3 separate regions of the Homo sapiens genome follow, and all the other regions are linked to region 1. The links are contacts of gene promoters, found by promoter capture Hi-C in blood cells and fetal thymus (Javierre and others, 2016). All regions are on one chromosome and are shown on one strand. Each heading gives the region's core, a stretch centred on a gene start or on the middle of the fragment in contact. The rest is flanking DNA. Distances are from core to core; before and after follow the strand shown.

What was found. Contacts are between HindIII fragments. The CHiCAGO score rates a contact against its expected background, and 5 or more counts as called.
Region 2: a contact is called between a fragment that was not itself captured here and the fragment with the promoter of TULP4 in region 1, in 2 of 17 cell types (M1 macrophages and endothelial precursors). The highest score is 5.7, in M1 macrophages.
Region 3: a fragment that was not itself captured here is called in contact with the fragment with the promoter of TULP4 in region 1 in 2 of 17 cell types (M2 macrophages and M0 macrophages); the score reaches 5.3 in M2 macrophages.

The regions. Positions count from the first base shown.
Region 1 is chr6:158,310,489-158,314,458 of GRCh38, reverse strand. TULP4 (TUB like protein 4) reads right to left here and starts at 1,994. Exons shown (of 14, transcript NM_020245.5): 1 at 191-1,994. The coding sequence starts at 442. RefSeq lists an enhancer at 291-370. The HindIII fragment of the contact is 1,254 bases long and covers 1,688-2,941 here.
Region 2 is chr6:158,507,596-158,511,565 of GRCh38, reverse strand. It overlaps TULP4 (TUB like protein 4), which reads right to left. Exons shown (of 14, transcript NM_020245.5): 14 at 1-3,970. Among named protein-coding and RNA genes, the nearest start is that of TMEM181, 51 kb to the left of the region's middle. The HindIII fragment of the contact is 165 bases long and covers 1,958-2,122 here.
Region 3 is chr6:158,489,776-158,493,745 of GRCh38, reverse strand. TULP4 (TUB like protein 4) reads right to left here. Exons shown (of 14, transcript NM_020245.5): 10 at 29-173. Among named protein-coding and RNA genes, the nearest start is that of TMEM181, 68 kb to the left of the region's middle. The HindIII fragment of the contact is 4,804 bases long and covers 1-3,970 here.

The DNA.
Region 1 (3,970 bases), core at 745-3,244:
GCGCAGCCTACTGTGAACTATGTCCATCTTAGCATCTTTTCTGCCAGAGAATAAGAGACAGAACTCACAGCATGGGAAGTCTCACTAGGCAGCAAGTCTATGAAACTGAAATGAAGGAAGTTTCAAGTCCACAAGGGGCTCAAAAACACCACTGGAAGTGACCAAAAAGTGAAACAAAACCACAGCTCACCTCGCTATTGTGGCCCCGGAGGTTGAAATTTATCCTCTGTGGAGTACTCCTGTCCCTGCGACAGTGACTAGAGGTGAAAGTCACCCCAACCACTCCTCGCCCGTTGCCCGTGGCCAGCCAGCCTTCCTCATAGTAGCGTCTCCTGCACACAGGCTTCTCCTTCTCACTCTTGGGGACACGCCCCTTCCAGGACAGGCACAGGATGTTGGAATCGCTGCAAAGCACAGGCCCATGTTCCACTGCTGCATACATACTTTCTTCAATGAACTGTTTTACTTAAAAAGTAATGTTAATGCTGTGAAATTTAAACCAATTTCTTTCATTGGTATATGTGTTTTTGTGGTTGGCTTGCGTTGCTTTTTTCCCCCTTTAATTAAGACTGACCTGAATCTAATTAGAAGGTCAGTATTTTATAAAGATCCACCGAATGCATAGTGAAAAAATTCCTCTATAAAAGATGATGGCAGTCTTCTAAGAAAAGGTAATGCTTAAAAAAACATGGGGTCCATTTGTATTTTCAAGTTCTCAGAGGAAGAACGTGCTGATCCTTTGGAGAAAGAGCATCGTTAATTAAGTGGTGATCAAGAAACGGTTTTCTTCTTTTTACTCCACTTGGTTATTCTCATTCAGCCTGAGATTCCAGTTTAGTGTAATATGATTCCAGAGACAAAGGGTTGCAAATACATAGATTTCAAGTAACTTAAGGCTTTAAGAATCCCTCTAGCTCGAATTTTTCTCTTCAAAAGTTCGGATGCAGAGACAGAATACACAGGATCATCTTCCTTCTGAAGCCACCCTCTAGCATGTTTCCTGAACTAGACAAATTTCTGCTGCTAAAGCTGAAAAAGATTGCATAAAGGGAAAAAAAGGCACACAAACCGTGCAAAACAGACCAGAGTTTGTGCAGACAAGAGTCCAAATTTTAGGAAGAAAAACAGACTCTCTCCTTGTTGTTTCAGAACCAGAAACTTTCCACCTCAAAGCTTGGCCCTGTGTCCCCGGGGAACGCAGGGCTCCATCGGACTGCTCCTCCACCAGCCGGCGCACCCCTCAGTGCCATAGAGGCTAGAAAGAAGGCCCCTTCACTCAAGAGGCAGAATGTTCCAGCGCTCTTACAGTGGTCCCAGTGTTTGCCCTGGGTGAGTCTTAAATCCTCTTGCTGACAAAACAGAGCCACGTGGCAAGATTTTGTTTCTTTTGCTCGTCTCCCTTCTCGCTCCCCCAGTTAGCACTCCCCTTTTCTGCTCCTAAAGATCTTTTTCCATCTTGATGAAAAAAGCTAATCTTAGAATTAAGTCCATCAGGTAATCTTCTCATACGCAAGTCTTCTTGGACTTGACAGGGAAGTTAATCCCTTAAAACAAAAGCAGAAGCCAGAGTCAGATTCCCCCAGCTGTCTCCCTAGAGAGTGATAGTGTTTTGCTGATGGGTGCTTTCCTGTTCACATTCAGAGACTGTCTCCAAACACCACACCACTAGTCCAACAAAAAGAAAGCTTTGCTTGGATTTTCCTTGATATTTATTTAATAATTATTGGTTTCAATTGCTATTTTACAATATTATCCTATAGATGCAGGAAAAAAGGGGGGGAATAATAAATTAAAATTTCTCAAATACAGTTAATTAAGATAGGCAAAGGAATCAGTTCATTATTCAAACTTGTCCCATCATACTTGAACTTGCTTTCCTCTAGCCATAACCACAGTAGGAGTTACTTTTCAGTCTAGAATTTTAATCCGTCCAAATCACCAAACCCACTGAAAAATAAAGTGCAACAAACACTGTGTGAGCCGCTGCAATGTTTGAAATCACACTTCTTTCTCAGTCACCTTCTCACTTAGTTCCTTCTTTAAACTGGAGAATATTTTTGTGGTTTAATCTGCGCAAATTTTTTTTTCTTCTTTTTGCAGACTTTCTTTACCCGTGCAGACCATATGGAAAACTGGCCATTAGTGATGTATTTTTCTCCCCGGGCTCCTGAGCCCACTGGTGTCAAGTTGCTCCATCTGATTCTTAAATTAATTTTCATCAGTTGTAAAACTCTCAAGTGTGCACAAGAATGAGCCTGTCTTCCCGTGTGAATGTGTAAGTACAGAAAGAAGGTTTTAAATGCACATAGACACACACTCTTCAACTGCCATACGAAGCGTCTGCTTCCCCAGTCATTTCAGGAACCATCAGATTATTCACGGCTGGGAGGCCCTGGAGTCTTACAAATCTGTTTAAAAAAAAAAAAAGATATAAAATTTAAAAACTTTAAAACACTGGAAAATAAAGGTTTTAAGAATAATTGCTGAAACTGAAATGAGAGACCCATCTTTACACTTACATCAAATGGAGCTACTGACTGCACTGAATGGTAAAATCCAATAGTGAAAGGATACACCTCACCAGACTCAAGACAACACACAACAAATGAGAGTTCTGCCTGCCACTGATCGTTGTATTCAATTTGTCAGCAGCTGGGCACATCTGAATGAAATCATAACTGCCATTCTTCCACACTGAACTGTACTTTCTAAGAGACTGAACTCCGAATGTGAGACTCTACCCCTCCAGAGACCATGGTCGCTGTTTAAGCAGGCATCCTCAAAAAGGAGACTGAAATGACTCAGGCAAGTTATCTGGATTGATTTTTTCACGATTAATAAAAGATATTCCCTCAAGACACAAAGCAGTAAGGGCCTTTAAAACTCATTCGTCCCTGATGGCTGGCAGGTCTCGGAGCAAAGCGCAGCTGTTTTCTAAGCTTTTATGTGGTCTACCAGCAATAAAGTTCTAGAGAATCTGTCTCTAGCAAATCCATTCCATCTTCTTCCTACTGCCTGAAGTCCAGGCTGCATCACATCCTCTACAAACACGAGAACACTCTGTCCCTAACTTACTCATCCTCCCTGCCCTCCCGCCCCGCCAGTCCTTCCAGAAAGCAGAGTGGACTTTCTCAAATTCAGCAGACTCTCTCAGTCTCCTGGGGCAGCTGAAGCGGCCCAGCCCCATCCCACAGGAACTGGACACTGAAAGGGAAGGGAAGGGCCCAGGTGTTCGCATTTCTAATAAGCTCCCAAGAGATGCTAATGCTGCTGGGCAGGGAACCAGGCTTTGAGAACTACTGGCCTGTAGCATCAAGTCCCAGCAAAAGACTCTACTTTCATCATAATACTAGGACATAATTTGCCTTCTTCCGTGTTCACATTTGTACCCATGGTGCAAAATCAACAGTGGGTCAAACTGCAAGCTCTTTAACACTAATCAAGGTAGAGGTACCAACTGCACCAGTAGTCATAGATTAAAAAAAAGAAAGAAAAAAAAAGCCAGCCTCACTTAAGAACATCTTTGATACGGCAGTAAAAATTATTAATTTTATTAAATATCAGCCCTTGAGTACATGGTTTTTAATACCCTTGTGTCCCAAAATAGTAGGTACACATAAAGTACTTCTGTGGACTACTGAAGCACCATGGTAGTCCCAGGAAAAAGCATGTATTATACAGTTTAAGTTGCAAAATGAACTGCTTGCTTTTTTCATGGAATACCATGTGACATGGTTTGAATGTTTGGCCCCTCCAAATCTCATGCTGAAACGTAACCCCCAGTGTTAGAGGTGGGGCCTGGTGGGAGGTGTTTGGATCATGGGGGCAGTCCCTCATGAATGTCTTGGTGCTGTCTTCTGACAGTGAGTGAACTCTCACGATACCTGGTTGTTTAAAAGAATGTAGCACCAGGAGTTCGAGACCAGCCTGGCCAACATGGTGAAACCCTGTCTCTACTAAAAATACAAAA
Region 2 (3,970 bases), core at 791-3,290, 200 kb before region 1:
AAAGTAAAACCAGCAGGATGCTGAATTAAAAAACAAACAAACCAACACTGGAGGAACTGAGGTGCACAAGCAGTGCACGCCACTGCCGAGGTCTGGACATGAACATGCTGGTGGTCTAGTTTGGTCTGGGGCCTATGCACCTGCATCGTGCACTTACGGTTAAAAAAAAAAAAAAGGGAAAAAGAAAATGCCAGTAGTAATAAACTCAGAAATTATGTCCAAATTTACAGTACCAAAATAATGCATTTATAAACAAATGCAAAAACAATACCCCTTTGGTAAATAATACAGTGTCTTTTTCAGTCAAACGCATAACCCATGCTTTTCTACAACACGAAAAAATTTTTATCTACAATAAACAACAAGATCTTAGAACCCTACCCCTCCCCTTAAAAAGAACTGTAAACAGAAAATATAGGTACAAGTAAAGTTACACAAAAATTGCACAAAGCCAAAGAAAATGGAAACAAAGTAAGCCACAACCCATTAGAGTTTTATCAGCCAGAGGTAAGGAATCACACAAATGCTGAAGAGTTCTGAGTTGTGTGCTATTACAGAAATCCCAGGAACTCAAACGACATTTTGGACACATTTTTGTCTCCACTAACTTTGCTTACAACCATTGACTTGGCCAAATGATACAGGCACACAGCGACACCATGGACTCCTTCTCCAGTTGCTGGGCCAAACTTTCCTTTTCAAGAAACCTTTTCAATTTGAAGACCGTGTAACATGGCAGAGCACACTCAGGAATTTGAGGTGACCTAGGTATATATTCCTGTGGTTTTGGGGACAAGTAGTGACTTATTTCATGGCTGTTCTCATGGACATCCAGCTGAGCAGGGCACACCCGTGGAGACTCCTTCTTACCTAGAATCAGTACTTTTGTATATTCTATGAGAACAAACACAATTCCAAACACATTTAGAGGTGCACAAAAGATATTACTTTAAATGCACTGGTTTATATTCAGTACATAGCTCATTAACACAGGAAAAGAAATATTTCTCTACACAAAGGCAATGGTGTGAAATATATTTCCCATGAAAAGTGGAATGATGAGGCTGTTCAGTGCTGCGCTCTTAGGCTGAGAGCTGTAAGGGAGTTTAGAGGGCTGTCCAGGCTGATCCTTTCATTTCACAGATGGACAAGTGGAGGCCTAGCCAGCCCCAGGGACTTGCCCAAGGTCACCATCCAACCCTGTGGCAGAGCAGGCTTGACCCTGGGGTTTGCAGACTTTTTGCTATGATTACAAGATGAACATAACACATTCTTCCATGTCCTTGTGAGACACTTGACAAGGGAGCAATGGCTATGGATAAAAACACTAGCCTGTGAAATTCTTTGATTTATGCTGCCATTAGAGCTTTGAGATTTTCCTGCTTCTTTGGCCCCAATTTTTCTCAGGATATACATTCAATGGGTATATTGTACACAAATCTGTGCCTTTGGTTTGATGAGGTTAGAGCTAAAACAAATTTAGAATTGGTTATATTTGTTAATATATCACACTTCCCTCAAAAAGTCATAGATTCTTTATACAGTTAACCTTTTACTGGACTGCTTTTAAATTTAGGGATTCAATGAGGTATCTTGATATTCATAAACTATTAATAAACATTAAATTTTTAGAAATCTCCTGCATAAAGTATGAATTTTCGTCGTATTTAGTCAACAGAGACTGACTGAATGAAAGCATAGTTGAAAATAAGACCACCACTATTAACTGAAACGTCACACTACTAGGACCGCACAGCCCGCAGCTTGTGTCTGCCTTGGCGCAGGAGGGCAGCCCCTCTTTTCAGGCCCCTGGGTAGAGGGGAGGTGGGCAGTGGCTGCCGGGGTCACTCCGGTACAAACTCATACAAACTCACGTGCGCCAAACATCCGAGACAGAAGCCTGTGCCTCCATCGGGGGAAAGCGCCTTTGGGGGAGGGAGCTAGGCATTTAGAAGCTTAGTTAATTATTTGCTAAAAAAATCCATTTTTTTCTTCTCACATGTATTTGTAGCTTTCATTTCAAAGATTTTCCCCTATATTTGCTCTTATTAAACAGGTTCTAAAATGGGCTTTTTCAGGGTCTTTATATCTCAAAAACAATTAGAACACAAAAAGTGAAGCTTATTACCTAGTAACTCTTTCCTTGGCTACTCTCATTCTAATAGGTCTCCCCTTTTTATTTCAGATCAACTGTTATTTTCAGATAAAAATAAAATTTTCAAAAGAAGAGAATACTATTTGAGTGTTATCTCAAAAAAAAAGTCTCCTTTGTATATAATCAATAACACAAAATACAAAAAAAAATTTTTAAGTGATTAATAGGAATTTTTTCCCAATTAGAAAAGTTACAAATTATCCAGCAAAAAACCTTCTATGGGCCGGGAGTGGTGGCTCACGTCTGTAATCCCAGCACTTTGGGAGGCCGAGGCGGGCGGATCACCTGAGGTCAGGAGTTCAAGACCAGCCTGGCCAACATGGCAAAACCCCATCTCTATTAAAAATACAAAAACATTAGCCTGGCGTGTTGGCGGGTGTCTATAATCCCAGCTGCTTGGGAGGCTGAGGCAAAATAATCACCTGAACCCTGGAGTCAGAGGTTGTGGGGAGCCGAGATTGTGCCACTACACTCTAGTTGGGCGACAAGAGTGGGACTCCGTCTCAAAAAAAAAAAAAAAAAAAAAAAAAAACCTTCTATCATATCCTCTTTATTTCTTGCAGCAAAATATACTGTGACCATGTAAGTCGTTAACAAAGATACTATTTTTCTAAATAAATAAAATGGGTATAACTCACCAAAACGTAACAACAAAATAATTCCTAAGAACACTATGAAAAGCAAGATAAATAATTATCTCCTAAACGACAAAACAGGGGAATTGCATTTAGATTATCTAACAGGCTATAACCATTATTGCACAACCAATAAGCACTGAAACACCATATCAAGCTACATAAACTCATATAAAAGAATTAATTCTGATAACATTGCTGAATTCTTTCTGGAAGAATGCACCCACTAAAAATATCAGGTCCAATACGTTAAATATAAATGAGAAACTGGTATTAGATGGGAAATATCCTTTGCCACATCAGAAAACTTCGTCAGTATTTCTCTGGGGTTTGGAGAGAATTGGGAGTGATGTCATGTCATCTTGATCTGGGAAAAAAATGGGTCGGTTTCTTTTCCAATTTTTTAACTAAAACAGGGGATTAAAAAACGTTTAAATTTGAAAATACTTTTCTGTAGCATCTTCTACTTGTCTGTTTCCAAATAAAATGCAAATTTGGAACCCAACGCCAGCAGATAGTTCCTGTGCTCCTGCACAGCAGGCCCAGGAGAGGGGCCTGATCCTAAACAACATCACAGGTAAGACTGAGAAAAACAAAAACAAAAACAAAAAACAACAACAAAAAACAACAACAAAAAACACTGGGTTTTGTCATCAGGGCTTGAATACTGCCCACAGGTTCTCACGAGGACGAGGAAGTGGGAAGAGATATTCTAGGTAATTTTTTTTTATACAATTAACAAACTGTGATCAACCAACTACCTAGGTATTACAATTTTAATAACGTTTTCTCAGTGGTTTAGCTCCTTAGTAAACAGTCTGTACAGTTAATAAACAACTTTTTTTGTTAGAGAAGATCATGAAAATTTTGTCAAAGATTTGACCATACTCCTCTGTATTTTAATACCCTGGTGAACACTTAACATTTTTTTGGTTACATTTCTAATTTGATAGAAAGCATTTGTAGTCAACTGAATTTTAATGTAGCCAAGAGGAGAAAAGGAGTGGTTTCAAATCAAGCGTTGTCCACACTTTTAGAATGGGAAGGCATAGAACATGGTATCTCATGGGAAAGATCATGTTTACAGTAATGCATTCCAGATTAAAAAGTAAAAGGGGCAGAGAGAGTAGAGGCTGTTTCTCAGCATGTGAGGATCTAGTGACTGTCACCACATTATTTG
Region 3 (3,970 bases), core at 646-3,145, 180 kb before region 1:
GCAAGGCAGGGTAACTGGGGGCTCCTACCTGAGTGATGTCTTCAAAAGGAAACTCTCTCCGAGTCAGGCTGGGCGAGCCCACAGAGGGCTTGCGCAGGGGCAACCGTGGGGACCGGGAGAGCTCCTGAGCAGCCCGGGGCAGCTTGGGTGACTTGCGGGCCTCAATGCTGATCCTGGGGAGGCAAGGCCAGGAGGGGTCAGGCATCCGTGGCGGGAATGGTGAGCATGGCCCTGACTCCAGCAGTCCTTTCTTTTTCTGGACAGCCAGCCTGGGTGTTGGGTTCTCACCCTGCAGCCAGTGCCCGAATTTAACAAAGCTCTCCCCTTGCTTTTGCTTTATGAATATGAGGAAAGAATGACAACTTTACATTGAATAATATACATTTTAAAATATATTGAGAAACTGGGTGTGGTGGCACACACCTGCAGTCCCAGCTGCTTGGGAGGCTGAGGCAGGAGGATCGCTTGAGCCCAGGAGTTCAAGGCTGCAATGAGCTACGATTACACAACTCCACTTGAGCCTGGATGACAGAGCAAGACCCCATCTCAAAATATACTTAGTATACACTGAAATGAGATCCAGCGATCCATTTGTAAGGAACTCAAAGAATTAACTGTCTTTCACTCTCTGTTGCCTTGGAGCAAGCGTGGAAATGGCCTTCTGCCAGGGGCCTGCACAATCAGTCCTGGGAAAATGGCAGGTGGAACAAGTCATTTCTTACCCTAATGCCAGTGATTCTTATAATTTCTTCTGCAACAGTGTGAATTTCAACAAATTTATCTAGCATTTCACCATCTGCAATATTTAAATCAAATTAGTAAAGTTTTTTGGCTGCCTTTTGATCCCATGTTGTATCTCTGCTTCTCAGTCCCTTTATTTGTAACATGGAGACACACATGTTTAATGACAGTCTACCCCAAAGACAGTGTGATTAAAATGAGTATGGTAAGGTTTAAAACAGTCTATGAAAAAATGCATTAAGTCTCATATATACTGGTTTTGAGCTTGATGAGAAACTCTGGGCTCCTGAGGAGTGGGAGGATGGCAGATTGAGCTCCCTAAAGCTATGATGTGGGACAATTAGCCTGGCTGCTGTGTGGAGGGTCCAAATGGGGAAAGGACAACAGGAGGAGGTCCAGCCACAGGAAGACGGCAACCTGAAGAGGACGTTTAAAGGTGAAGGATTTAGCTGCATGCATTAGATGTCCTCTCTGCTTACATAATGGGAAAAAAGCACTTTGGAAATATAGGAAAGTTCATAATGTTACATGCAATTTTAACAAGCTCTGGAACAAAGATGAAAAAAGACATCAATCAGATTGCTAGAGTAACTGGATATCTGCATATTTAAAAATGAGCATTTACCTCTAATTCATACCAAACACAAAAATTAATCCATAAGCATGAAAGCTAAAACTAGAAAGCTGCTGGAAGAGAACTGAAGAAAGGCTTCATGACCTTAGGTAACCAAAGACATCCCGAACAGGACACAGAAAGCACTAACCACAAAAGAAGAATGCCACGTGCTGGACTATATGGCCATACAGATATCTGACAAAGGATTCAAATCTAGAAGAAAGAACTCTTGGCTGGGTGCGGTGGCTCACACCTGTAAGCCCAGCACTTAGGGAGGCCAAGGCGGGCGGATCACAAGGTCAGGAGTTTGAGACCATCCTGGCCAATATGGTGAAACCCCATCTCTACTAAAAAATACAAAAATTAGCCGGGCGTGGTGGCGCTTGCCTATAGTCCCAGCTACTCAGGAGGCTGAAGCAGGAGAGTCACTTGAACCCAGGAGGTGAAGGTTGCAGTGAGCCAAGATCACGCCACTGCACTCCAGCCTGGGCGACAGAGCAAGACTCCAGCTCGAAAAAACAACAACAAAAAAGAATGAGACATTCAGATGCCCCTGTAGTGATTGCTCTAAAGGGAGGGGAGGGTACACAGGAGCTTGGGCCAGTTGCAGTGGCTCACACCTGTAATCCCAGCACCTTGGGAGGCCGAGGTAGGCGGATCATGAGGTCAGGAGATTGAGACCATCCTGGCTAACATGGTGAAACCTTATCTCTACTAAAAATACAAAAAATTAGCCGGTCATGTGGCACAAGCCTGTAGTCCCAGCTACTCGGGAGGCTGAGGCAGGAGAATCGTTTGAACCCAGGAGGTGGAGGTTGCAGTGAGCCGAGATCATGCCACTGCACGCCAGCCTGGGCAACAGAGCGAGACAAGAAAGAAAGAAAGAAAGAAAGAAAGAAAGAAAGAAAGAAAGAAAAGAAAGAAAGAAAGAAAAGAAAGAAAGAAAAGAAAGAAAGAAAGAAAGAAAGAAAGAAAGAAAGAAAGAAAGAAAGAAAGAACTCTTATAACTCAATAAAACAACCCAATAATAAATTGGGCAGAAGACTTGAACAGACACTTCACAAAAGAAGAAGACAGCCAAGTGGCCAAGAAACATGCAAACGAAGCAGCATCCATCACTGGAGATATCAGAATTAAACTGAAATGAGATGCCACTACACCTATCAGAACAAGGTAGAATTATTTCTAAAAAATGACAACAGAGCCGCTGCTGAGGATGGAAGAAACTGGGACTCTCTTGGAAATTGCTGGTAGGGATTTACGTGGGTGCGGCTACCCTGGAATACTGCTCGGCAGTTTCTAATAAACTTTAACATGTATCTGACCCATGACCATGCAACTCCTTTCCCAAGTTTATATCCAAGAGAAATGAGCGCACATGTCCACAAAAAGACTTGTATAAGAATGTTTATCATGGATTTGTTCATAATAGCCTCAAACTGGAAACTACAAATATCCATTGATTGGTAAACAGAGTAAACTAATTGTAGTATAATCATTACAATGGAATACCACGGAGCAATAAAGAAAAACAAACTACTGATACATGCAACAACATGATGACTCTCAAAATCATTACACTGAGCAAAAAAAAAAAAAGAGCCAGATACAAAGGGAACATATCGTTTGACATATCATATGAAGTTTAAGAACAAGCAAAGCTGATGATGGAAGTCAGAAGAGTGATTACTTCTAGGGAATGGGTATCAAATGGAGGGAGCACAGGCAGACTTTCTGGGATGATGACATGTCTTTTATCTTGAACTTGGGGGAAGACACTGGGATAGCCCTTGTACAATGAGCTAGGTGTTTACGATTTGGACAGATGTGTATCTGTATGTAACTTATACCTTAGTTTTTCATGGCATCAGAAAAAAAATCACAGAATTAAAACTAGAAATCTTAGTGAAGAAAAAGGTTCTACAGTGGATGCGATGTGTTGATGTTTCCCAATTACGGCATTACAGGCATTTATTTATTATTTATTTATTTATTTGAGGTGCAGTCTTGCTCTATTGCCAGGCTGAAGTGCAGTGGCACAATCTCGGCTCTGCAACCTCCACTTCCCGGATTCAAGTGATTCTCCTGCCTCAGCCTCCTGAGTAGCTGGGACTACAGGCACCCGCCACCACGCCTGGCTAATTTTTGTATTTTTAGTAGGGACGGGGTTTCACCATGTTGACCAGGATGGTCCAGATCTCTTGACTTCGTGATCCACCCGCCTCGGCCGCCCAAAGTGATGGGATTACAGGCGTGAGCCACTGTGCCCGGCTCCAGCATTACAGGCATCTTATCTGGCATTCTCTTCAACATGTTACATCCACAGGGGAACCTTTTTCTTCCTTTTCTCAAACTATAAGAAAAAACATATAAGCCCGGGAACTATGGCCACCCCTCTGCCACCCACCATCACTGCTAACCCCTAGAGAAGTTCTGAGGGTGTAGCAAACTTCTACTGGGTATCTTTGTCTATCCCGAAGGAAACAAAACAAAACAAATAGAAGTTGTAATTATTCCAGCTGGAATCTTCTGGAAGAAAAGGCAGGGAGGTTGCTCTTTGACTCTTCTGGTCAGTTTCAATGCGATTCTGTTGCAGGCACAAACACACATATT